Linked DNA regions of Homo sapiens: regions 2, 3, 4, 5, 6 and 7 are each linked to region 1. The links are contacts of gene promoters, found by promoter capture Hi-C in blood cells and fetal thymus (Javierre and others, 2016). All regions are on one chromosome and are shown on one strand. The core of a region is centred on a gene start or on the middle of the fragment in contact, and the rest is flanking DNA. Distances in the headings are between cores, read along the strand shown. Region 1 holds the start of ATXN2L (ataxin 2 like). Region 2 holds the start of TAOK2 (TAO kinase 2). Region 3 holds the start of TBC1D10B (TBC1 domain family member 10B). Region 4 holds the start of SRCAP (Snf2 related CREBBP activator protein). Region 5 holds the start of HIRIP3 (HIRA interacting protein 3). Region 6 holds the start of RNF40 (ring finger protein 40). Region 7 holds the start of C16orf92 (chromosome 16 open reading frame 92).

Region 1 (3,141 bases), core at 334-2,833:
GTTTGTTTTGGGGGGAAGGAGTCTTGCTCTGTCACCCAGGCTGGAGTGCAGTGGTGCGATCTGGGCTCACGGCAACCTCCGCCTCCTTGGTTCAAGTGATTCTCCTGCCTCAGCCTCCTGAGTAGCTGGGATTACAGGCATGCACCACCACGCCTAGCTAATTTTTGCATTTTTAGTAGAGACAGGGTTTCACCATGTTGGCCAGGCTGATCTCAAACTCCTGACCTCAAACCTCCCAAAGTACTGGGATTACAGACCATGCCCAGCCTCTTTTCACTTTCTTAAATAAGCTCCCCACTGCTTTGAGGATAATGTCCGTGTCTCTTACAAGACTTGGGAGCCTTTAAAACCTGATCCCAGATTAGCTACCTCTTCCCCCCTTTAATTTTATGCTTAGGACAAGCTGAGTTTTTCTTAGTTTGTCATATCCTATTTCCCTGCCTAGAAACCCATCTCCCCCTGCCCTCTTATCAGTTTTTTTTTATAATTTAAATTTTTTTTTTTTTGTAGAGACAAAGTCTCACTTTGTTGCCTAGGCTGGTCTCAAACTCCTGGCCTTAAACGATCCTTCTGCCTCGGACTCCCAAAATGTTAGGATTACAGGTATGAGCCACTGCGCCCGGCCCTCCTGTCCCTTATCTGGGTCTCCCAAAACTGGATTAAGATTAGGTGTCACTCCCATTTGCTCTTGTAGTCCTCTGTGCTTCACCTACTAGATCTCGTCAAATTCTCTGAATTCACCACTAGCATGAACTCCTCCAGAGCAGGAAGCAGTTTAATTATCCTTGTGTCCAAAACAACTAACTGAATACTCCAATGCCCAACTCATTTTGAATGAATGAAGCTGCCTTCATTGCAGGGTCGGGTGGAGGATTTTGAACTCGGAACTTTGGCCTTCAGTCTTTGTTATTACAGTTTAAAGATTCATTCTCGGGCATGGAGGAACAATTTAGGTCAAAATCACAAAAATCTGAAATAATTTAGGACGAGGCGTAAATTTATCTGCAAAGATCAACACGCTCAAACGAATCACTAATGCTCATCAGTCTTTTACTTAAAGCAAACAAGGTGGAGGGTAGCTCCTTGCGAAACCTACCACCTGCCTAAAAGCGCAGTGGCTCGGGTGGTCCAGTCCCGGAGACTTTCTTGGCACTTAAGGCTCTGCCCACGGGCCGCCAAGTGGCGGAAGAGCCTCACGCACGACGTGCCGCCTCACACTCCCGCGGAGGCATCGCGACGCAGCGACGGCGTGGGCGGAGAGGCCGGCCCTTCCTCTGGCGCCTTCGGCTCCTCCCCCTGCGCCTCACACGCTCATTGTGAAGCGACAGCGGCCGCCGGCTTCTAAGGCGGTTTGAGACCTTAAGACCCTAAATCCTTGGCGCGCGTGAGCGCCCGCGCCGCTCCTTACCCACTCCCAGGGCTAGGGGTGCGAGGTTCACCGACTTGATTCTCTCCCACTTTCCCGCCGGGAGCTAACCGCGCCGGTGTGCGCGGCACCTCGCGCCACTGCTCGCTCCTGGCCCCCCCCCCCCCCCCCCCCCCCCGGGAGCTCCCACCCGCGCGCTCCTCCCTCTCCGCTCCCCGGCGACGCGCACGCGCGCCAGCCCGGCTCGCGCCCTCTCGCTTTCCTCCAGCCGCGAGACCCCCTCCCCTTCCGCCTCGCGGCGCTTCCTCGCGCCGCGGTCTTCTCTCTCCACCCCCGACACCGCGGGGCTCCCCCCGCCCGCCCACGGCGGGCCCCGGCTGCCCGATCCCCCTCGCTTCCCGCGCTCTCCAGCGGGGCCCCAGCCCCGGCCCCCTCTCTCCCTCCCTTCTCTCTAATTCCCCTTCCGGACGCTGCCATCATGTTGAAGCCTCAGCCGCTACAACAGCCCTCCCAGCCCCAGCAGCCGCCCCCCACGCAACAGGCCGTGGCCCGTCGGCCCCCCGGGGGCACCAGCCCTCCCAACGGCGGCCTCCCGGGGCCGCTGGCCACCTCTGCGGCTCCTCCCGGGCCTCCAGCGGCCGCCTCCCCCTGCCTGGGGCCTGTGGCCGCTGCCGGGAGCGGGCTCCGCCGGGGAGCCGAAGGCATCTTGGCGCCGCAGCCGCCGCCGCCGCAGCAACACCAGGAGAGGCCGGGGGCAGCCGCCATCGGCAGCGCCAGGTGAGAAGGGTGGGCTCCGGGCGAGGGAGCCGCGGCCACCCAGAGGCTGTGGCTCGGTTCCGGTGGGGCGGACCCCGACCCGGCACCGTCAGGGGCACCGGCTGGGTGGGGAGTCCCCGTGAAGCTGGGGGAGGGCCCCCTCAGGTCCGAACAGGTCGGACGGAAAGGGTCCCCGGGCGGCCACCGGAGCACTGAGGGGCCGCGCTCGGCTCTCGGGGCCTAGTCAGGGCTCGCAGCCCCGGCCTTCAGGGGAGGCGGGGCGCATCCCGCCGGCGCCGTCGGAACGGGGAGTTGGGGGGGGGCAAGGAGCTGATCGGGGTCCCCGGTTCCATTACCACGAAGGGTCTCGCGGTCCCCGGCTTCAGCCAATGGGGAGTCTGCTGCGGGAAGGGGTCCCCGGCCGTAGCCAATGGAGGGGGGCGCGCGGCCCACAGTTTGGCCAATGGGGAGGGAGGGACTTGGGAGCGGGTTGCTGCCTCCCCCTTCCCGGTCTGGCCAGTAGGAGGGGAGCGAGGTGGGCGGGGGGACGGAAGGAGGGATGACTGGGAGGACTGCGGGCCGGGAGCCTCTGGCGCGCGCGCCCCCTTCCCGTACGTGCGCGTGGATGCTCGGTCTCATGACCCGGGCATTCGCGCGCCCCGGGAACACCTAGGGCAGGGACTAGTTCGTGGAGGGGCTCGTCTGGTGGCAGTGCATGAGTAGTGGAGGCCCTGCTCAGTTTTTCCTGTGCGAGTGTGTGTGTGTTAATGGAATTAAGAGTGGCAGCACACGCAGGCGCAGTGGGCTCTGATCGCTGGAGGTGGGGGTTCGGAAAGTCCCGTGGGTTTTAGTGCGCAGGCGCAGACCGGGCGAGGCCTCCCGGTGGATGGCTTTTGCGGCTGCGCTGTCCCCCAGCCCCGCCAGCGGCCCCCTCTTCGCCCTCAACCGCCGGTTACATCAGCCAGCGACGAGCAGGGTTACCTGGCGATTGGTGATCCCCGCAGAGTGGGTAACGGGCT
Region 2 (3,204 bases), core at 596-3,095, 1.2 Mb after region 1:
TATTTTTGAAACTATGTAGACAGAATCATACACATTCTTTTGTGGCTGACTTCTTTCAAGCAACATTGTGATTTTAAGACTCATAACTAGTTCACATCCAAGCATTTGGGTAACAATGGTGAGTTAAGAGGGTTCACATTTGATGATTTGTCCTGAATATGAACCATGTTTGTCTTGCTTTTGTCCTGAAATTCCAATACCCAGTTTTATGATGGAAATTTTGTAAAATTCAACTTGAACCGCTCAGAAGAGTCTAACTGATGATACTCATTTACTGGGGACATAGTATGTGCCCAAGAACTTGACATGCACCTTCTGTCTTCCATTTAGTCATCGTTACCTTTAGAAAAAGCTGATTCCGTTAACAAGATCTTTGGAGGGAATCAGCTTCACAAACGTAGCAGTGGGTGGGGGTCATGTTGGTTAACCAGTTCACACATCAGCTCACTAAAGGAAAAAATATTTCTGCAAAAAATCTTCACTTGTCAGAGGGGGGTGCATGAAATTTGAGAGCCATGTGTTATGCATCCAGCTCTTGAACTGGTCTCAGCTTCAGCTGGCTGCAGTGCCCTAGGAAGTTACTATGGGAAAAGTGGAAATAGTTGAGGCCCAGGGAACTGATCAGGCCAGAGGAAGTGGAAGCTCAAGATCAACTGTGCTTATTTTGCTGATGGCTGGGCCTAAATGCCCCAACCACCTACTTGGGACAGGAAATGACAGGACCCTCTCAACCTTGGACTGGGAAAGGAGGGCTTCCTGGCCCCTGACAGACCCTGGGGTCCTGAGGCTACCTTAGTTGGGATTAAATGCCCGTATTGGTCTCTAGCTGTCACTCCCTCTGCTCCTTCCTCAATTTCTGCACACATCTCAGAGCTTCCTCTAGCAGCTCTTCGACCTGTTTTGTTGTTTTATTTTCTTTCTCCCCAGGTGTGAATCAACTTCTTGGGCCTTGGCTCTGAGTTGGAAAAGGTTTTAGAAAAAGTGAAGAGCTGGAATGTGGGGGAAAATAAAAAGCTTTTTTGCCCAGTGGCGTGTATGGTGTTTATTGGGGGTTGGATTGAGGTGGGGATTTTAGGGTAGGCAGGCTTAGAAGTTTTGGGGGACTCTTTCCTGTTGACTCTCTAGTTTGGACACAGGTTGGCATAGGGCATAGGTTACTTGAGCTCTCCCCATGGTTGACTTGGCTTTGGTAAACACCTGTCTTGTTTTCTTCTACGAAATAAAATGGATAATTACAGTTAGTTGGGCGGGTGGGGTGTCAGGTCATGGAAATGCTGTGACATAAATGCACTGTGACCTTGGCAAGTCTTGCAACCTGCAGCGCCTCAATTTCCGTAAGAGATTTGACCGATTGAGTTTTCCCAGCGTCGACGCGCAAAGATTCCTCGCACTTGGAGGCCCTTTTCCAGGTTAGATGGTTGCTAACCTCGGAGCAGTCTATTTTCCCGCCTTTTCCGCGCCCAGCAGCAGCTTCCTTTGCCCCTCCCAACTTCCACCCTGCGCGCAGTCGCAGATCGCCGCTGCTGTCCGTCCACCCGCGCCCCCTCAAAGCTTCCCCTAGCAACAAGCTCGGGCTCAGAGCGAAGGCGGGGCGAGCGCATGCGCTGCAGCTCTGTCCACCGCCAGTCGTGGGACAGAGTGCCGGGCTCCTCCCCTTGCAAGTCTAGCTCTTCTCCCCGCCTCCTCCGGCCTGGGGTCCGCGTGGCGGGGCGGGCGCGCACTCGGGCTTGGCGGCTGCCGGTCTCCCAGGCCGCGGCAGTGAGGAGAGAGGGCGGGGCTGAGTCCTCTGCGCCCCCGCCCCCTTTAGCCCGGCGTCCCTACCGCGCCTGCGCGCTCCCGCCCGGTCTCCATCTTGGAATTGGGAGGAAGAGGGAGAGGGAGACCGGGACGAGACCGGGGCTGTGGTGCGGAGAGAGGCTGAGACGGAGAAGAGGAGAGGCAGAGAGGGCGCGGGGACCGTCAGCAGCACCTTAGCTACAATCGTTCAGCTATTCTCGGAAGAGAGAAGGGAGAGGGAGGAGGCCGGGGCGGGAGTGGGGGCTGTCACCCTCGGACCCCGGCGTGAGAGGGGCCGTGCGGCCGGACGTCCTCGGGGTGGGCCCCCAGTCGGTGGCCGAAGACCTACAGCTCAGGCCCCTGGGTCCCAAATTTCCAGGCTTTGCCCCTCCTCCTTTCTCAGATACCCGGGTAACAGTCCTCATAGTCCAGATATCCGGGACTCGGGTCCCAACCTCTCTAAACCTGGGTCTCTGTTTCATAGAATTTCAAATATCAGGTTCAGGCCCCTGCGTGCACCAGTATCCGGGGTTCATTCCCCGGGCGTTCAAATATCGGATTCAGTCTCCATCCCGTTCAGATATTCGGGGTTCAGACCCCACAATCAGAAATCCGGAATTCGGCAGCTGTCGCCCTCGACGAGGGGGAGGACTGGACCGCGAGGTCAGATTAGGTTGTCACCCCCTCCCCTCCAGGGGAGGCTTCCCGGGCCCGCCCCTCAGGAAGGGCGAAAGCCGAGGAAGAGGTGGCAAGGGGAAAGGTCTCCTTGCCCCTCTCCCTGCTTGGCAGAGCCGCTGGAGGACCCCAGGCGGAAGCGGAGGCGCTGGGGCACCATAGTGACCCCTACCAGGTGAGACACGGGGTGCAGGGGCGCGGGTCCCTGTGTCTAGTTCTGAGAAGAAAGGGTGCGCCTTTCTGAGAAGCTGGACTTGGGTAGGCCCTCTCAGGATGGGGAAGCCCAGCTGAGCGAGTGGTCAGCCTCTGGCTAGCCTTGCCTTCTGTTGCCACCCCCTTCCCCTTCCTCTTCCCTTCATTGTGTCTGGTTGGTGGGGGACCTCAGGTGACAGGGTCTCTGATGTCACCGGCGTTCACACCCTAGGGTGCTTCAGCTAATCAGATGGATTTGCACTTCAGTCTTCTCTCCTTCACTTTGCCCCTCACAGCCACCTCTCCTCCCTGATATGTCCCGTTCTCCTGGCTATTCTGTGGTTTTGATTCCCATGCCTCTGATTCCCATGGTGGGTCTGCTTATCTGCTTTTCAGGCCTGGTCTGGTTGGATTTCTTGTCCTTGCAAGGAAGTGTGTGTATATGTGTTTGTGTGTATGCGTGTGTGTGTGTGCTTGGAGGTGCCTGGCAATGTTTTCCCCCAGCTGCAGTTACCTTCCAACCTCTTGCTGTGATGGTGTCAATAATCTCATCCATTTGTC
Region 3 (3,140 bases), core at 45-2,544, 1.5 Mb after region 1:
GTCCCGCTGGGTGCCCACTGGTACTCACAGGCTGCCCGAGTACTGGCTGCCCCCAAGGAAGCCATACTTGTCCGTCTTGCGCAGGGCCAGCCCGTTTATCTCTGAATCTGAGCCCATGGAGCTCACATCATCCGCCAAGGACTCCAAGGTCCCAGACATGAGGCTCACGGAGTCCAAGTAACTCAGCGTGTCCGGGGCCTGCCCTCGAGGCCCAGAGATGCCAGGTCCCAGGCTGGACGTGGAGCCCAGGTCTTGAGAGTTTTCAGCAGGCTCCGGAGCTGGGGTCACGGTCACGACAGCTACCGGAGCCTCACAAGTCCCAGAGGGGCCTGTGCCAGGGCCTGAGGGGTCCTCAGGAGCCTGTCCTGCTGATGCTGATGTTGCTGCGGCAGCTCCATGCCCACCTGTCACTTGTCCTGATGCACTCCGTGCAGTCACTCCTGAGGCCACTGTGGTTCCCGGCTTGGGGGCAAGCGGGGGTTTGGCGGTCAGGGCACCAGGAGCCGTTCTGGAAGGGGTCCTGGTAGGGGTCCCGGTGGGGGTCCCTGGTCCTGGGGCGGGTGAGGGTCGAGCCTCCTCTGTCTTCGGCGAGTCTGCCCCTGCGGCCAGAGCCCTCGATGTCTCAACTCCAGCCACTGCCGCGGGCTCTGGGGATTCCGGGCCGGAGGGGAGCTGCGGCTTTGGGGCTTCGGGCGAGGCCTCCAGGGTCAGCACCACCACCGTGCTGCCCGTGACAGCCGGGGCTGGGGCCGGGGCTGGGGCCGGGGCCGGAGCAGAGGTCTCGGCCGACCCCGGGACCCAGGCGGGCCGCGCCTCCCCGGGGGCCACCAGGGTGACGGGGGCCGAAGTGGCCGTAGTCACTGGAGGTCCCGGAGCCACCACCACGACGGGCCCGGCCCGGGAACCCCGGGGCGGCGGCGAGGGGGCCGCGGGGGCGCCATGACGGCGCGGCGGGGCCACCAGGGGCGCCGTGCCCGTCTCCATGGCCGCGGGCCGCCCCTCACATCCCCCCGCCGGGGAGGCCGCAGAAGGCGCCGCCCCTCGGGCCTCCCGGCGAGGCCAGCCGAGAAAGGGGAGAGGGCGAAGGGCGCGGCTCGGCGCGCGCCGGGGGCGGAGCGGCCGCTGGGCGCGCAGAGGCGGGGCAGGGGTCGGGGGGCGCCGCGCGCCGGGGTCTCTCTCGAGCCCTCTCACCCCCTCGCGCGCTCTCGCCACCGCCCCCTCCCTCCTGCTTGGGGGCGAGCCGCCGACCTCGCGCCTGCGCACACGCCGCAGAGCCGGCTCCGCGCCAGCGTCTCGGCGTTCCACGCCTGCGCGCGGACTGGCTCATCGCGCTCCTTTTTTCTCCCGCCTAGTCAGAGGATTTGGACGAATAGTGGGAGAGAGAGAACTGGGCTTCTGCCAATCGTTGGAATCGTGGGCGGGGCTGGAGGCGAAAAAGGGGTGGGTCATCTGGAAAGAGGAAACGGAGAAAGCTAGGGCTGTAAGACCAATCAGAGGACGAGGAAAGGCAGGGGGCGATGGGACGAAAGAAATAACCAATAGAAACGCAGGGGTCTGAACCTCCTGGCCAATGAATATGACTGAAGGGTGAATGACCGCGGAAGGGCGGAGGAGGAGGCAGGGCTGTGCGAGTAAGAGGTGGGGCCTGGAGGCTTCTTAACCAATAGGAATGGTAAAAAGGGAGCCAATGAAAAGGGGAGCAGGTGGAGGTCAAATTGACAGGCAGTGATGTCTATTTAGGCGGTGACAGACAGCATCCGCAGTCAATAGGAAGAGCTGAAGAATTCTTTAGGTCTCCCAAAATGGTCAGTAAGGAATGACAGCTGGGAGGAGGCGGGGCAAGCTAGAGATTAATTCGCCCCGTCAGCCAATGATCGTGTTCTCCCACTTTGGCCACAGGACAGGAAAATAGATAGCTGTCTCAGCCAATGGGAGCATCCAAAGGGCAAAGATGCTGCCAGCAGGCGGTGCCAGCCCAGGGATAGTCGGTGACAACCGGAGACAAGCCTTATGGGAGGGTGACAGCTGGGGACAGCACGGAGAAGGGGCGGGGGCATTAGTGCAGCCCTCAACCAATGAGTGCCGCGCTGCCCCCTCTCGAGTCCTTTCCGGTCCCCTATTCTTCGTTCAGCTCCTGAGCCCCACACTCTGGTGGTCTGTGGGACCCTGAGCCCCACCACAGATCCAGTGCCCTGACCCAGTACTCTCATCCTTTACTCTATAATTCTCCGATCTCGGCCCCCAACTAACCCCAACACTCCAGGCCCAGGTGGCAATAGCCAGAGCCCCCAGATCCTATAAGCAACCCATATCTCTGCTTCACCCATTTCCTGCGGGAATCCCAACCTCCAAGTCCCTCTCCTCAGTTCCCATCTATCTGAGCTCCTCCCCAGAACCCAGGCTCCAGTTCCTCAGACCTTATCCCTCTGAGTACCCCCTCCATTTCTTCTAGTGGGGATCTCAAACCCCAAATCCATGAATCCCTAATACCATGAACTCCCCATATGTGTGTTACTATTCTTTTGGGGATCCAAGGCCCCAGTCCCGTCAACCCCTCTCCCCTCACTGCCACATCCCTCTGTGCTCCTCATGTTCCACTGAGAATCCCGACCTCAATCTCATGAGCGCTCCAGGTTGTCCTTAGATCACAAGCATAAAGACCTGACGTTATGAGCTCCAACCTTCCAACTTCTAAACGCCCTCTTCTTTCTCTGACCCCCATATTCTGATTTCCATATAGCATCCACCATCCTGGAATTCCAGTGAGACCTAGCTCCCGACTTCTCAGCTCCTCCTTGGTTTCTGAGTCCTCTAAGGTCCCTCACTCCCAACTCAGCCCCATGTCCTGTCAATTCCCACTCAGTGTCTGATCTCCTTCTCCTCACCTTTCCCATCTCCCGTTTGACCCAAGCTTCCTGAGCTCTCCTCCCATTCCCCTTTTTGGAGTCCTCCTCCTCTCCCAGAACCCAGTAATAAGTGGGCTCCTCCCTGGCCTGGACCCCCGTGGTAACCCTATAAGGCGAGGCAGCTGCTGTCTGAGGCAGGGAGGGGCTGGTGTGGGAGGCTAAGGGCAGCTGCTAAGTTTAGGGTGGCTCCTTCTCTCTTCTTAGAGACAACAGGTGGCTGGGGCCTCAGTGCCC
Region 4 (3,284 bases), core at 674-3,173, 1.9 Mb after region 1:
ATCCTCACTTTACAGAGGAAACTGAAGCTCAGAAAGGTGAAGTTAATTGCTCAAGGTCACATAGCAAGGAGTTAATGGCACAAGGCTAGGTCCAATTCAGGCTCTGGCCTGGGATCCCCTCTTCTGGGGGTGATGGGAGGAGGGTCTAGAAAAGATGGGCATCATCCACTTTTCTTTCAACCCAAACTTCATCTGTAAAATGGGACCAACAATCCTCTTCGCAGGGAAGAGCTAAACTGAATGGAGGAAGGGGAGCTTCATCAGGGCTTCCTAACCTGGCCTCTTAGCGGGGGCTTTAGGTGGTAAAATTTTATGACAGCGAGTGCATTCTTGTGGCTTAGACTGCTTGGCTAGGAATCTTGACTTCAGGATCTGTCACTGTGTTTTAACGCCTGAGCCTCAATTCGTTTGTAAAATGGAGCAGTTAGGATTAAAAGAAATAATCAAGGCACCAAGTAGTGTCAGTAGAAGGTAGCTGTTATTTATTGTTCTATTCTGGGGTAAAGGTATCAGATTCTCAAAGGGATTCTTAATCTAGAAAGTTTGCGAAGAGATGGCAAAGGTGTTTGAAAGCTATCAGGAAACCATCCTCGCGTAAAACGAAGCAGCGCTACAGAAGTGGGCTGCCATGGGAATCGGGAGGCCCAGGTTCCACTGCTAACTTGCTGCAGCTTACTGGGTGATCTGTAAATAAAAAGGGAGGTGGCGGTGGTCCGAGCTGGCAGCCGCAATGCAGCCCCAGGTAGATCTAGGGGCAAACGGTAAAGGCGCTCCGAGGAAGGGCGAGCGCGCAGCCTCTGGGAGACTACACCTCCCAGGCTGCCTTGCGCACCGTGCTGCACCCTACGCTAGCACGCGAGCCTCCCCGTTCCCCCACCCTCCAGTTACTGTCTCTCGCGAGAAGACGGGCCGCGCCGGCGATAGCGATTCCGAGCGAGTGGTGGTGGTAGTGGTGGTGGTGGCGGCCGAGACGGCGGCGGCCATTTTGGTGAGGCCTCGGGAGCGGCAGCGGCGGTTCGCTGGGAGTAGCGTCTGCCCTTTTTCCCACCCACCGTCCGCATCTGTGTGCTGCGCGAAGAGGCAGTGGAGGCAAGGCGGTGGCAGTAGCCGCAGTCTCCAGGGGAGTTTAAAGGCCGCGAAGGCGGTGGCCAAGAGGGGGCCCTCCCCCCTCCTAGGCGGGAGGGGGGGTGGTGCGCACGCCCCCGAGGACGCAGGTAAGGAGAGGGAGACAAGATGGCGAACGCCCCACAGTTCCCCCTCCCATGACGGCTGACTGCGCGCGCATCTTTCCGCCACCGCCTCCCCCCCACCTTCCCGGGGTGCTGCGCGCGCACCCTCAGCCGGGGCCCCGGGGCCGGTGCGCGAGGCTGTCGGCGCGCGCCCATAGAGACAGACTGAGGGGGTCAGGCCGGCCGGCGCTGGGCCCCGGCGTGTCTCCTCTCCCTTCCCGCCCTTCTGCGCACGCGTGCCTGAGCGAGCGAGCGAGCGAGCGAGCCCTGAGAGGACGGACCCAGGTGCGCTCCTGCCCGCCCACCAACCCAGTCACCCCTCAGGGGCGCGCGGGAAGAGGAAGGGGGGCGTGGGACGAGTAGTCGGGGCGCGCGCCCACCACATCTAGCCGGGGGACCAGGACCTGGTGGCACGAACCCTCCCTTCTCTCAGCCTTTCGCGGTCGGGTGATGGGGGGGCTCCCTGACGGGCTTGGATGACGAGCTTCCCAGCCCCGCGACCCTTGTGTGCGTGGGCTCGGGTTCTGGCGGGAGCCCCTGGGCCGTGCGCGCAGCCGGCTCGCTCCGCCTCCAGCCGCGCACGCGCGGGCCCCTCCCCCGCCCGGCGCGCACGTTGGGTGGGGTGGGAGTCTGGAGGGGGCGGGGCTATCTCAGGGCTAGTGGCAACTTGGGCAGAGGTCAGGGGTCACGCGAGGTCAGTCCGTCGGGAGGGCTAGGGAGATGGTCACGAAACCTGAAGTCAAGAGTTAAGGCTTGTTGGCTTCTGGTGAGCTCGGGTCTTGGGAACGTGTGGCGGAGTAGGGAGTGAATCAAAGCCGGCACTGTGGTTTAGGAATTTCCTTAAACACTGGGGAAGCATTTCCGGGCCTCCTGCGGGTTCACACTGCCTGTTTCCGGCGCGTGGTTCTTGGCAGTGCGGCCTCTCGCTTTTGACTGCTCCTGAGTCTCCTTTTGCTGTGGTTCTTGTATTTGGGGAAGTGTCTCAAGGCGCAGGTATGGGATATACAGCGCCCTGCCCTGAATCCTGGGCGGATTTTCCTGTGACCAGCCTGTTTGTTGACTCTTCCCGGGAGTTCCACTCTCACTTCTGCGTTCAGCCCTCACTGGAAAGGCCCGCAGGCAGGTAGCACCTTTCTGAGGTTCTGGATGTGACAGCTTTTTTTTGCTGTATTTTTTTTTTGTCTTCCATTCTGTGGTTGGAGCCTTTACACTTAAAATTTTTGAACTTTCTTTCTTCACTCCTTTCCTGCTCCTGCCCCCAGGCAGGATCGTATGTCCCTCCGGAATTCACAAAACATGATTTGCATTTCCCTGAAATGTGAGATTTTCCTACTACTGTAGTTTTTCTGTTTCTAGTCTTTTAACTGATTTGGGTATATTTAAACGTCTCAAAAAACTGGAGTAAATAATACGCTTTGATGGATGTTTCAGGTGTGATTCCCTTCAGTACGGCGGCACCGTGGAAGTGCAGACTTTCACAGGGGGTGTGGTCTCAGCTCACACAGGTGAGGGATCTGCTACCATTTTGTGTGCTGATGCTAATGGGAGAAATGTTTGAGATAAAGCAATTATAGGTCCGTATTGGGGATTTTCACTCTAGAGAAGCATGGGAATGTTTGCATGTGATTTTTCTGTAGAGGGTTTGATTATAGTACAACAACAGAACTGAGGCTGTGGGTTGAGGAAAACGTGGTCAACCTGGCTCTACCAGGAAGAGTAGCAGGTTTTCCTTGGTTTTGGCATCAGACTGTGGATTGAAGCCCTCCTATCACTTTTTTACTGTGTAACCTTCCGCAAATCATAAGGTCTTAACTTCGTAACTTACAAAACAGATTATATTAGAATGTAAGCTACATTTAGGTCGGGAATCCTTTCTGCATGGCTATATCCGTTGTGTGTAGGAGGAAGTCAATATTTGTTATGCTGTGAAAAGCACTTGGTTTTTAAGGTAGGTGTGAGGATTATAGAACACATCAAACAGGTACTAAAAGTATCTTATACATAGTAAGTGCTCAAGAAATGTAACCTGTAATTTCTGTGTTTCTCTTTATTCAG
Region 5 (3,069 bases), core at 460-2,959, 1.2 Mb after region 1:
TCCCTCCTTTGGCCTCTGGACTTCCATCTGAGGAGGAAGAGGAGCTTCGTGTCCTGCCTTTCCTGGAGCTCTTCTTGGAAGAGCGGTTCTTCCTCTCCCCCTGGGGGCCTCCCCCTGCCTCGCTGTCACTTACCTCCCTCTCCAAGTCACTTTCCTCACCACTGGTGCTGCCCAGTCTGGCCATCTTTCTAGAGCCTTTAGCTGTGGGTTCCCCCTTCCCACTGTCTTCCTCGTCCTCGCTGCTTCCACTCAACCTCTTCCCACCCTTAAGCTGGGTCCTGTCCTCACTCTTCCTCTGCACTGGGGGTTCTCTATCTCTCCCACTGTCATCCCCACTGCTGGCTGCCTCTTTCTGCTCTTCCTCGCTGTCTGAGTCTCCCAAGAGCCTCTTTGCCTGGCTTTTCTGCTTACAGCTCCTCTCCTCCCTAGCTGACTTTCTCCGGCCATTGCTCCTGGTTCTGGGTTTCCAATCCCCCTTTTCCTCATCCTCTTCTTTCTCTTCCTCCTCCACTTCCTCCTCTCTCTGCTCTTTCTTCTGGGCTAGGATCTCCTCTTCACTCTCCTGTTCACTTTCCTTCAGGCTTTTAGTTCCTTTATTTCCCTCCACCTTCTTTGCTGTCCTCTGAACGGGTTCTGCCTCGCTCTCCTCACTTTCTTCCCTGGCCTGCTTCCTACTGACTGAGGCCTTGCCTGGTGCCTGCTTCTTTACCACAGGTTTCTTCCTAGTCTTCCCCTTGTACCCCTTTTCCTCCTCCTCACTGCTCTCCTCTCCCCTCTGTGCGGGCAGGTCCCTCTGCCGTTCCTCATCACTGCTCTCCTCAACTGCCTTTGAGGCTCGCCTTGGATTCTCCTCTTTGGCTGGGCTGACTTCTGCTGCCACCCCATTCTTTGCTGGGGGTCCAAAGTAGTCTGGGCTGGAGGCTTCAGAGCCGGACTCTGGAATATGGAGAGGAGAGAGGGTTGAGACAGGCTCCTCCTGTCCCTTCTCCCTTCACTTCGGATAGGTTGCCTCGAGCCCTGCCCTGACAGTTGGAGGGGCAGCAGGAAACAGCTATCTGTACTTGCTGTTCCCGGTTCCTGACTCACTAGCCTTGCTCCCTCATCTAACGCCTGGGGACATAAGAGATGCGCAGTGAATGCTTCTTGAGTGAACCAACGATGCAGAAGGCCCCCACAGCAGGGAGGAAGCACTAACCCGACTCTGAATTGAAGCGGAACCTTTTTCTCTCCGGGTCGCTACAAGGGGTGGGAGGCCTCTTGCCCTTCTTGGTAAGGTCCAGTTTGTCTTCCCTGGAAGCGGCTTCATCCACCTGTGTGTGCGCCAAGAGGGCAAACTATGCACCAAGGCTGCGCTCACCGCGCCCCGTCAGGCCCCTCCTCCTCAGCAGCAAGCCCCGCCTCCGCCTCCCGCGGCCCAGGCTCCGGCCCGGCACACCTGCATCTTCAGCAGCTCCTCCTCCACCAGCCGCTTCAGTGCCTGCTTCTCCTCGGGCTCCAGGTGGCTGCGGCCCGAGTGAGCTAAGTACCTCCGCCGCACGATGGAATGCGTAAGCGTGCTGCAGGGACATGGTGTCAGGACGGAGTCCCGACCCACCCGCGCCCTTTCCAACCCCATCTCCAACCCCCTGGGCACCTGAGGTCCGGGCGGCCTCGGAAGAAGCTACGGGTGAACTCCTGCATCTCCTTCTCCCGCGCCATTTTGCTCAACCCGGGATTGACGGCTCCCGCCTTTTTTTCTTCTCGGCCTCCGTCAGCGCGTTTGACAGCGGCTCGCGCACGCGCAGTGCTGCGGCAACGTGGGGCGAGGGACCGTTGGCCCTTGGCCGCGGACCGCGTGGGCCGAGAACTTTGCCAGACGAGACTTGTTTTCTCTGGGCAGTTGGAGGGTCTCGCGGCTCCTACCCTTTTTTGGAACGGATCATTTTAAAAGTTCTCGTTAGAAACCAATTCGGCGCCGGCACCCTTTGGGTGAAACCTAATCAGCCCGCGACGCTGCCTTTCTCACTGGTCACGGGCAACAGCTAGGCTGCTGTTATTTCGCAAGGCAGAAGAGAAAAGGCATCCTCGCGAGCAGATGAGGAACCTCGGGGATAAATCCTTTTGTGGCTTCAAGTGTCTAAGTACATTAGAGTCAGGAACGGCGCTTTCCAGCGTCCGCCATTTTTGTGGCGTCACCGCGTCGCTGCTACGCCATCCCCAGCGCAGTGGCTGCCGCGCTCCTGTCCCAGTGTCCCCCGGGAGGTCGGCCCGTGCGGTGACGCCCCTGAGCGCGGGGTACGCCGGGAGTTGTAGTCCTGACGGCACAGCCTTGCAGCGTCTCCGGAAGTGGAGGCGGGAGCGGCACGGCAGCCACTGCTTGGGGTAGCGGGAGGGCAGACTCTGGGCGCCACTCCCGGGCCGGTCATGAACGGGCCGGCGGACGGCGAAGTGGACTACAAAAAAAAATACCGGAATCTGAAGCGGAAGCTCAAGTTCCTCATCTACGTGAGTGCTGCCGCGGGAAGGCTGTGGGGGATGAGGCCTGGCGCGGACAAGATCTCAGTTTACCCAGGTGTAAAGTGGGTGGGGCGAGCGGCCGCTGGTTCCGGGGCCCTTCACGGAGGACCGTTGGCCCAGCGCACCCCTTGCCCGTGATACAGGAGCACGAGTGCTTCCAGGAGGAGCTGAGGAAAGCGCAAAGGAAATTACTGAAGGTGTCCCGGGACAAGAGGTGAGGCACGTTGCAGGGGCGGAGGGCGATGTGCTTCCTAGGAAATCTACATTCGGACCCCATCCCCGAGTAGGGCCACAAGTGCATGGGCTCTTTCAAGTATCCGATGGGCCAGCTGGGAGGGACAGGTACCCAGGAGGACATTGCTGCGCTGGAAAATCACTGTCCGTGTCTCCTTCCCTCCCCTCAGTTTCCTCCTAGACCGACTTCTGCAGTACGAGAACGTGGATGAAGACTCTTCGGGTGAGCAAGGTCTTCAAAAATTGGTGGAGAGCATGGTTCCTGGTACTTAGCAAGCTTCCTGGGCCCCCGCCTTTTAGGCAGTGGTGGCTGATGCAGCCCCCAGTGGTCCTTAAGCC
Region 6 (3,127 bases), core at 223-2,722, 1.9 Mb after region 1:
ATTTCTAAAGCCTAGGGTTAGGAATCTTGAATTCTTTTTTCTGCTCTGCCACTACCTTGTATGACCTTGGTCAAGTACTCCCTGTGGCCCTCAGTGTCCCCCTCTGTACAATACTCCTTAGCGGCCATGAGACTCCATTTACATTCTGTCTTTGGCTCTTTTTTTCTCACACTGCCTCCTCTTTGGACTGGAGAGGCTGGAAAGCCAACTTCCAGTCACCTGGAGTAATTGCATCTCCAGGCCTCAGTCTCATCTGTAAAATGGGGATGCCCTGGCCACAGACAGGACTGTTGGGGAGACAATAAAGAACGCAAATATTCAGTGTAATTTTTGTCTCTTCACACTCACCACATGCAGATCCGGGGTCGGGGCAGCGGCGGCTGCGGAAAGAAAGCGAATTGGGGAAGGCAGCTGCGGTGTCCTGGCCCGTAGCGAATCTCCAGCAGGCCGGAGAAGCCGCTGTAACTTGCCATCTCATCTCAAGGACTAAGGAGAGGCGCGGGCGAGGGAGGGCTTCAGCAGGCCCTAGGTGCTCTACGCGAGCACAGTAACCACCGGGGTCACACACCCCTGCCTCTCCTCGCCCAAGCAGCCCGGGAGACGTCCCGAACGTTAGTAAGCATAATGACAGGTGGCGCCTGCGGGGGAGCCGGTTTATAAATATTCACGAGCAGACCAGACTGTCCCGCCCTCACCGGAAACAAGTTGGCTCCGGGGTCTTCATCCGCTTTCGCCGCCGCCGCCGTCGTCCACTGAGTCCGCACACTCGCACGCGTCCGCGCGGCCGACCCATGCACTGAGCTGCGATCCTTCCCCGCTTCCCGCCGCAGCTCGGAGAGATGTTCAAGCTCCGACTGCACCCTCATTCCCAAAAAGTGGCTGGTCTTGCGGTTGAGCATCTCGCCGCTCTTCCGTGCCGCGAGGCGCCCCGGGCTCCCGCCGCCTAGGTTCCAGGACAGCCAGCGCTCGGTCGGCGGCTACCAAGGCCGGGCCCGTTCGCCTCGCTCCGGCCAATCTACGCGCGGAGAGGCGCGGCGGGGCGAATCCGTGGGGGCGTCTCCCTCCGTCTCAACGGCGACGGTTGCCAAGGGGGCTTGTGAGGGAAGGAAGGCGGAAAGCGCAGGCTCACGCCAGTGGGAGCGAAGAGAACGCGCAGATACGTGAGAAGTTGCGAGTGCCCACCTGGGCGCCCTCTCTTCCAGGTTGCTAATACGAGGGCCGGTGCTGTCCTCCAGGCTGGGAAGTGGGAGCGCGGTGTCAGTTACTATGGGAACTGCCTCTTGGCCAATCACCGAGAGAAAGAGGAGGTGTTTGGGAAGAAGCCAGAGGACCCGAGTGGCGGGACCAAGCGTAACCAATAGAAGCAGAAGATAAAGAAGTTTCCTCACATCCGGGGCTGCCTTTGGCGCCTGCGCCCTGCGCACCGTTGGGGGGGGGGCAGTGGCGTCCAGTGACGCCCAGTGACGTCCGGTGAAATCCAAGATGGCGGCGCTAGGCTGACCCTCCTGCTGGTGAGGGCTCTGGCGCCGGGGGGGACGGGATCCAGCAGGTGTGTGCAGGGTGGAGGGTGTTTGGGGCTGTGGAACACCAGCCGTTCCCACATCTCTGCTCTGTGTCTTCTGCAGGTGACGGAAGTACCGCCTCCTCCCGTTTGACGCCCCTCAGGGGACCCTGCATCGCTCCAGCCGCCGCGGCCATGTCTGGGCCAGGCAACAAACGCGCCGCCGGCGACGGGGGCTCAGGGCCCCCGGAAAAGAAGCTGAGTCGTGAGGAGAAGACCACCACGACTCTTATCGAGCCCATTCGTCTTGGAGGCATCTCTTCCACGGTTCGTGGGCTCTTGCCTTAACCCTCAGAACTTCCCAGAGCCCTCCCTCTGTTCTCTGGCCAAACTGTGCGGAATCTTACACCCACTTCCCCAAGTTTAGCAAGGTCCGCGTTACAGGACCTTGAAAGAAAGGTTAGAAAGAAGCTCAGAACACGACGCCTGTCTTCCCTTTACAGATAGGAAAACAGGTTTCCAGGGGGCGTGTGACTTGTCAAAGACTAAGGATTTACAAGGGGACAGGCAGAAACAACGTGAGCCTCCTCACAACAAAGACACTTTCGCTGTGTGTTGTCTGAGCCTCCTTAGATTCTGTTAGCGGTTAGTGTGGGAATACCTCCATCTCCCATGCATTGCAGATGCTCTGCTCCTCTTTCTCTCTCTGTGATTGGTTTGTGGGCCCTGCTTGACGCTCTCGTCGGCCCCTTTGTTTCCTTTGGTAGGAGGAGATGGACCTGAAGGTACTACAGTTCAAGAACAAGAAACTGGCAGAGCGGCTGGAACAACGGCAGGCTTGTGAAGATGAACTCCGAGAACGAATTGAGAAGTTGGAGAAGCGGCAGGCCACAGATGATGCCACACTCCTCATCGTCAATCGCTACTGGGCCCAGGTGGATACCTTCTGCTTTCAAAGACCAGGCCTTGATTCAGCTGCCAATCCCCAGATTCCCCTGCTAGGAAAGGAGTATCATGTTGGAAAGCACTAAGGGATTCATAACATTTTTGATGTTTTCTCCTTCCAGCTGGATGAAACTGTGGAAGCCCTTCTCCGATGCCATGAGAGCCAGGGGGAGCTGTCTTCAGCGCCTGAGGCACCTGGGACCCAGGAGGGGCCAACATGTGATGGGACTCCTCTCCCAGAGCCGGGGACATCAGAGCTGAGAGGTAGGACCAGAGTGCTGGGATCTGGGGAGCTTAAGTTCTGGGAGAAGTCCTGGGGAGGAGGGGACTTTGGTGTTGGGCCCCTGAATTGCCTATCTTACTACTTCTCACGAAATGGATTTCATGTTTGGGCAGTAAAGTGCAGTGCACAAAAACACAGGCTTTAGACTCTGACTAACTTGGTTTATAGAGCAATTCATGTTTTGACACCCATTTGTTTCAAAACAGTATTATGGTTGAGTATTAAATATGTATTTGACGCTTCCTAGAAATGAGTGTTGCACTTGCTATAAGGGAGGAAATTATAAACATAGTAAGCAGAAAGTACTGGGGCTCCTGAAACGGAATGATTGTGTGTGCATGCATGTGCGTGTGATTCTAATTATATTGGTAAAGTACAGGAAGCTTCCCTGAGGATGT
Region 7 (3,369 bases), core at 744-3,243, 1.2 Mb after region 1:
GCAGAGCACCTCACACGCGCAGATACACGCCTGGCTTTAGGGGAAGTCGCGGCACTGGGTCTGCAGAGTCCGCTGAGCACGCACCTTCGTTGTGAAACTAAGGAAACCCTGGAGTGTCCTTGGGCTTGGGTGGGATGGAACATGCCCGTGACAGACAGGCCCACCTGCCAATCAGAAGGGCGCTCTCCTTAGCTGGGATGGGGCCGCAGGAGTGGAAATGGCTGTTGGGAGGTGGCAGAGATGGGAGATGGGGTGGCCACGGGGGAGCCGCCGGCCACAGAAGAGGAAACGGAGGTGCAGGGAGCGGAGTCTGCGAAGGACGCGTGGATGGCCAAGAGATGTGCCTCGGAAAGGGCCGAGGGACTTCCTCTGACCAACCCCCGACGGCCATTCCCAGCCATCCGTTTTCCTGCAGCCGCGGATGCAACCTGTGGAAGAGGCGGGAGGAGGCCCGGGAGTCCGCCCCGCTGCGCCTTTCCTAGGGTGGGAGCGTGGACTCAGGCGCGGCCGCTGCTGCCACCTAGTGGGAGACGCCTGCTACTCCTCTCGGTTCCTAACCCCAGGGTCGTTCCCGGCTGAGCACTAAGGAGGGGGCGGGGGAGGACGGAGAGAGCCCTGTGCCCCTGGATCTGCGGATAGGATGCAAGGGGGAGCCTCAGAGAGGAACCCCCCCCCCAGGAAGTGTGCATTGCCCACACTACTTTTCCCCTCTGTGCCGTGATTTCCTCCCGTGTATAAGGGAGGCAAGAGTACCTGCCTCTGGGCTGGGCTTGGTGGCTCACGCCTGTAATCCCAACACTTTGGGAGGCCGAGGCAGGCGGATCATCCGAGTTCAGGAGTTCAAGACCAGCCTGGCCAACATGGTGAAACCCCATCTCTACTAAAAGTACAAAAATCAGCCGAACAGTGATGGTGCGCGCCTGTAATCCCACTCCAGGAGGCTGAGGCAGGAGAATCGCTTGAACCCAGGAGGTGGAGGTTGCAGTGAGCTGAGATTGTGCGTCTGCACTCCAGCCTGGCGGACAGAGTGAAACTCCATCTCAAAAAAAAAAAAAAAAAAAAAAAAAAAAAAGAGTACCTGCCTCTGAGGGTCAGTGCAAGAGCAAATGAACAAATTTGTGCAAGGTACTTGGCCATAAATGGGGTCCAGCCAGCATAGTAATAGGTGTTCAATAAATGCTACCTGCTGGGCATGGTGGCTCATGCCTGTAATCCCAGCACTTTGGGAGGCCGAAGCTGGAGGATCACCTGAGGCCAGAAGTTCGAAACCAGCCTGGGCAACATAGCAAGCCCTCATTTCTACAAAAAATGCAAAAATTAGCCGGGCATGGTGGCACATGCCTGTGGTCCCAGCTACTCAGGAGGCTGATGTGGGAGGATCACTTGAGGCCAGGAGTTCAAGGCTGCAGTAATCATACCACTGTACTCCAGCCTGGGTGACAGAGTGAGACCCTGTCTCTGAAAATACATAAAATAGGCCGGGCGCTTTGGGAGGCCGAGGCGAACAGATCACCTGAGGTGAGGAGTTCAAGACCAGCCTGACCAACATAGTGAAACCCTGTCTCTACTAAAAATACAAAAATTAGCCGGGTGTGGTGGCAGACAGATAAAAGGAAGGGATTTATCCAAAGCTGTAATCCCAGATACTCAGGAGGCTGAGGCAAGAGAATCACTTGAACCCAGGAGGCAGAGGCTGTAGAGAGCCAAGATGGCGCCACTGCATTCCCACCTGGGTGACAGACAGAGACCCTGTCTCCAAAAAAATGAAAATAAATAAAACAAATGTTACCTGTGGTTGATCCAAGGGGTAACCGGAGGTGTGTGGCCCTGTGCCACCACCCCAAATTGTGCCTGTTGTCCAAACACAGCTTCCTTTAGTTCGGGCTTTCAGCAAGATGGCCGTGCCGCATCCCTCCTCTTTGTAAATGCTGGGGCTGCCACCATTATGGTTTTATCATCAGCGACATTCCAGGGGGTGAAGACTGGTCCCAACCTCTCTTCTCCTCTCCTCTTCTGATGAGAGTGAGGGATGGGGGAGGGGTCCCAGCTCCTAGCACTTTCTCCCCTCACCCCAAAGTGCCATCAGAACAGCTCTGGGCTGTGACATCACAGAGCCCCCACCTCATGATAGGAGTCATGAGGCTGTGGCCATGGGTGCTGGTGTGGGTGTGGCTGGCTGCACTAGGGGCCATAGAAACTGGTAAGAAGCTGTCTTGGGAGCAGCAGGAAGGCAGGCAGCTCTGGGAGCATAAAGTGTGATGCCCACTTAGGGACTCGGAAGCCAACCCTGCACCCTCTCATTTTCTCTCCACTCTTCTCTCCCATCCTGCTGGTCCCACCTACCCCCCAACAACCGCGAGCCTTGTCGTGGTGCACCCAGCTGACCCTGAGGGAAATCAAGACCCTCCACAGCCTCTGCAATAAGGCTGGGTGGTCTCACAGGGTCCCAAGTCAGCTTCCGCCTCGAGAGATAAAGGCAGGGGTCAGCTTGGCTGTTGTCACAGAGTTTGCTTGGGTCCTAGCACCCAGACCCAAGCGTGCCACGGCGTCAGCCCTGGGGACAGAGTCTCCGCGCTTCTTAGACAGACCTGACTTCTTCGATTATCCGGACTCAGACCAAGCCAGGCTGCTGGCTGTGGCCCAGTTTATTGGAGAGAAACCCATCGTGTTCATTAACTCAGGTATGAACCAGCTTGAGAAGGGACCTCCCTCCCCGCCAGGGTCTGGAGGAGAGCAGCCCCAGACCCTTCATTGGGCCATCAGAGGGGAGTTAAGGGTCCTGTTTGTCTAGCAGGTTCCAGCCCCGGGCTCTTCCATCACATCCTGGTGGGCTTGCTGGTGGTGGCGTTCTTCTTTCTCCTTTTCCAGTTCTGCACCCACATGTAAGGCCTGCCCCCTTTCTCCAACCCCACCCACCACCACCTTCCTTGGGAGCGGCTGAAGACCCCAGTTCTAGCGGGGCAGGCTGTGACCTCTCCCCTCTGATCTCCATGCCCCACAGAAACTTCCAGAAAGGGGCCTAAAGAGCCGGACAAGGGCTCTGGACTCAACCTGAGCACCCACACCCACCTCCTCTCCTGTTGATGAGCAAAAGTTCCCTGCTTTCCTCCTCCCTGACTGCCCAGCGAGCAGCTGGGGATCCTGTCCCCTCTGTTTCCCATGGCCCAAGCCCCCCACCTCCTCCCTTCCCAGCCCCAAAGAACTTGGTGGCAAGGGCCTTGGTGGCGTTCACGCAGATCGTCTTTTATTAGCGGTCTGTAAAGCACCTCCCAGGGTCCCCCGACCCCAGATTGGAGGAAGCCTTGAGAGGTCAGTAGCACCAGGGACATGGCAGGGCCCGAGGGCGCGATGTGCAGCCGATGGTGAGGG

The links. The method cuts DNA at HindIII sites, captures the fragments that hold promoters and counts their contacts. A CHiCAGO score of 5 or more calls a contact.
Region 2: a contact is called between the fragment with the promoter of TAOK2 here and the fragment with the promoter of ATXN2L in region 1, in 1 of 17 cell types (non-activated CD4 T cells). The highest score is 5.9, in non-activated CD4 T cells.
Region 3: a contact is called between the fragment with the promoter of TBC1D10B here and the fragment with the promoter of ATXN2L in region 1, in 3 of 17 cell types (total B cells, monocytes and fetal thymus). The highest score is 6.4, in total B cells.
Region 4: the fragment with the promoter of SRCAP here is called in contact with the fragment with the promoter of ATXN2L in region 1 in 2 of 17 cell types (non-activated CD4 T cells and total B cells); the score reaches 7.1 in non-activated CD4 T cells.
Region 5: the fragment with the promoter of HIRIP3 here is called in contact with the fragment with the promoter of ATXN2L in region 1 in 6 of 17 cell types (fetal thymus, monocytes, naive CD8 T cells and 3 more); the score reaches 16.1 in fetal thymus.
Region 6: the fragment with the promoter of RNF40 here is called in contact with the fragment with the promoter of ATXN2L in region 1 in 6 of 17 cell types (monocytes, total B cells, non-activated CD4 T cells and 3 more); the score reaches 9.7 in monocytes.
Region 7: the fragment with the promoter of C16orf92 here is called in contact with the fragment with the promoter of ATXN2L in region 1 in 2 of 17 cell types (total B cells and fetal thymus); the score reaches 5.2 in total B cells.

The regions. Positions count from the first base shown.
Region 1 is chr16:28,821,416-28,824,556 of GRCh38, forward strand. ATXN2L (ataxin 2 like) reads left to right here and starts at 1,584. Exons shown (of 22, transcript NM_007245.4): 1 at 1,584-2,143. The coding sequence starts at 1,845. It overlaps LOC124903672 (a long non-coding RNA gene), which reads right to left and starts at 2,627. Exons shown (of 2, transcript XR_007065042.1): 1 at 2,479-2,627. RefSeq lists enhancers at 863-1,599, 1,111-1,320 and a silencer at 1,641-2,790. The HindIII fragment of the contact is 7,883 bases long and covers 1-3,141 here.
Region 2 is chr16:29,972,023-29,975,226 of GRCh38, forward strand. TAOK2 (TAO kinase 2) reads left to right here and starts at 1,846. Exons shown (of 16, transcript NM_016151.4): 1 at 1,846-2,626. TMEM219 (transmembrane protein 219) reads left to right here. Exons shown (of 6, transcript NM_001083613.2): 6 at 928-1,026. LOC124903762 reads left to right here and starts at 1,600. Exons shown (of 2, transcript XM_047435036.1): 1 at 1,600-1,758; 2 at 1,975-2,613. The coding sequence starts at 1,600. The coding sequence ends at 2,613. RefSeq lists a silencer at 1,536-1,905 and enhancers at 2,329-3,100, 2,807-2,936. The HindIII fragment of the contact is 1,984 bases long and covers 1,550-3,204 here.
Region 3 is chr16:30,369,200-30,372,339 of GRCh38, forward strand. TBC1D10B (TBC1 domain family member 10B) reads right to left here and starts at 1,295. Exons shown (of 9, transcript NM_015527.4): 1 at 29-1,295. The coding sequence starts at 984. It also overlaps a transcript of MYL11 not described here. RefSeq lists silencers at 721-800, 891-1,180. The HindIII fragment of the contact is 4,560 bases long and covers 1-2,909 here.
Region 4 is chr16:30,697,248-30,700,531 of GRCh38, forward strand. SRCAP (Snf2 related CREBBP activator protein) reads left to right here and starts at 1,924. Exons shown (of 34, transcript NM_006662.3): 1 at 1,924-1,995; 2 at 2,661-2,734. LOC730183 (a long non-coding RNA gene) reads right to left here and starts at 1,813. Exons shown (of 2, transcript NR_144637.2): 1 at 1,634-1,813; 2 at 460-684. RefSeq lists enhancers at 735-824, 855-1,044, 1,701-1,995 and silencers at 1,165-1,574, 1,715-1,944. The HindIII fragment of the contact is 7,629 bases long and covers 1-3,284 here.
Region 5 is chr16:29,993,908-29,996,976 of GRCh38, forward strand. It overlaps HIRIP3 (HIRA interacting protein 3), which reads right to left and starts at 1,710. Exons shown (of 7, transcript NM_003609.5): 1 at 1,634-1,710; 2 at 1,436-1,556; 3 at 1,196-1,310; 4 at 1-936. The coding sequence starts at 1,698. It overlaps INO80E (INO80 complex subunit E), which reads left to right and starts at 2,334. Exons shown (of 7, transcript NM_173618.3): 1 at 2,334-2,484; 2 at 2,640-2,710; 3 at 2,901-2,953. The coding sequence starts at 2,404. RefSeq lists enhancers at 1-201, 2,058-2,227, 2,288-2,417. The HindIII fragment of the contact is 4,684 bases long and covers 1-3,005 here.
Region 6 is chr16:30,760,850-30,763,976 of GRCh38, forward strand. RNF40 (ring finger protein 40) reads left to right here and starts at 1,473. Exons shown (of 20, transcript NM_014771.4): 1 at 1,473-1,511; 2 at 1,626-1,828; 3 at 2,269-2,436; 4 at 2,569-2,710. The coding sequence starts at 1,697. PHKG2 (phosphorylase kinase catalytic subunit gamma 2) reads left to right here. Exons shown (of 10, transcript NM_000294.3): 10 at 1-327. CFAP119 (cilia and flagella associated protein 119) reads right to left here and starts at 1,213. Exons shown (of 9, transcript NM_001014979.3): 1 at 696-1,213; 2 at 349-380. The coding sequence starts at 899. RefSeq lists enhancers at 1-337, 302-451, 1,042-1,221, 1,177-1,814, 1,302-1,561 and 2 more and a silencer at 536-765. The HindIII fragment of the contact is 4,015 bases long and covers 1-3,110 here.
Region 7 is chr16:30,021,205-30,024,573 of GRCh38, forward strand. C16orf92 (chromosome 16 open reading frame 92) reads left to right here and starts at 1,994. Exons shown (of 4, transcript NM_001109659.2): 1 at 1,994-2,200; 2 at 2,523-2,681; 3 at 2,795-2,882; 4 at 3,002-3,369. The coding sequence starts at 2,137. The coding sequence ends at 3,023. It overlaps TLCD3B (TLC domain containing 3B), which reads right to left. Exons shown (of 5, transcript NM_031478.6): 5 at 3,223-3,369. It also overlaps a transcript of DOC2A not described here. The HindIII fragment of the contact is 16,537 bases long and covers 1-3,369 here.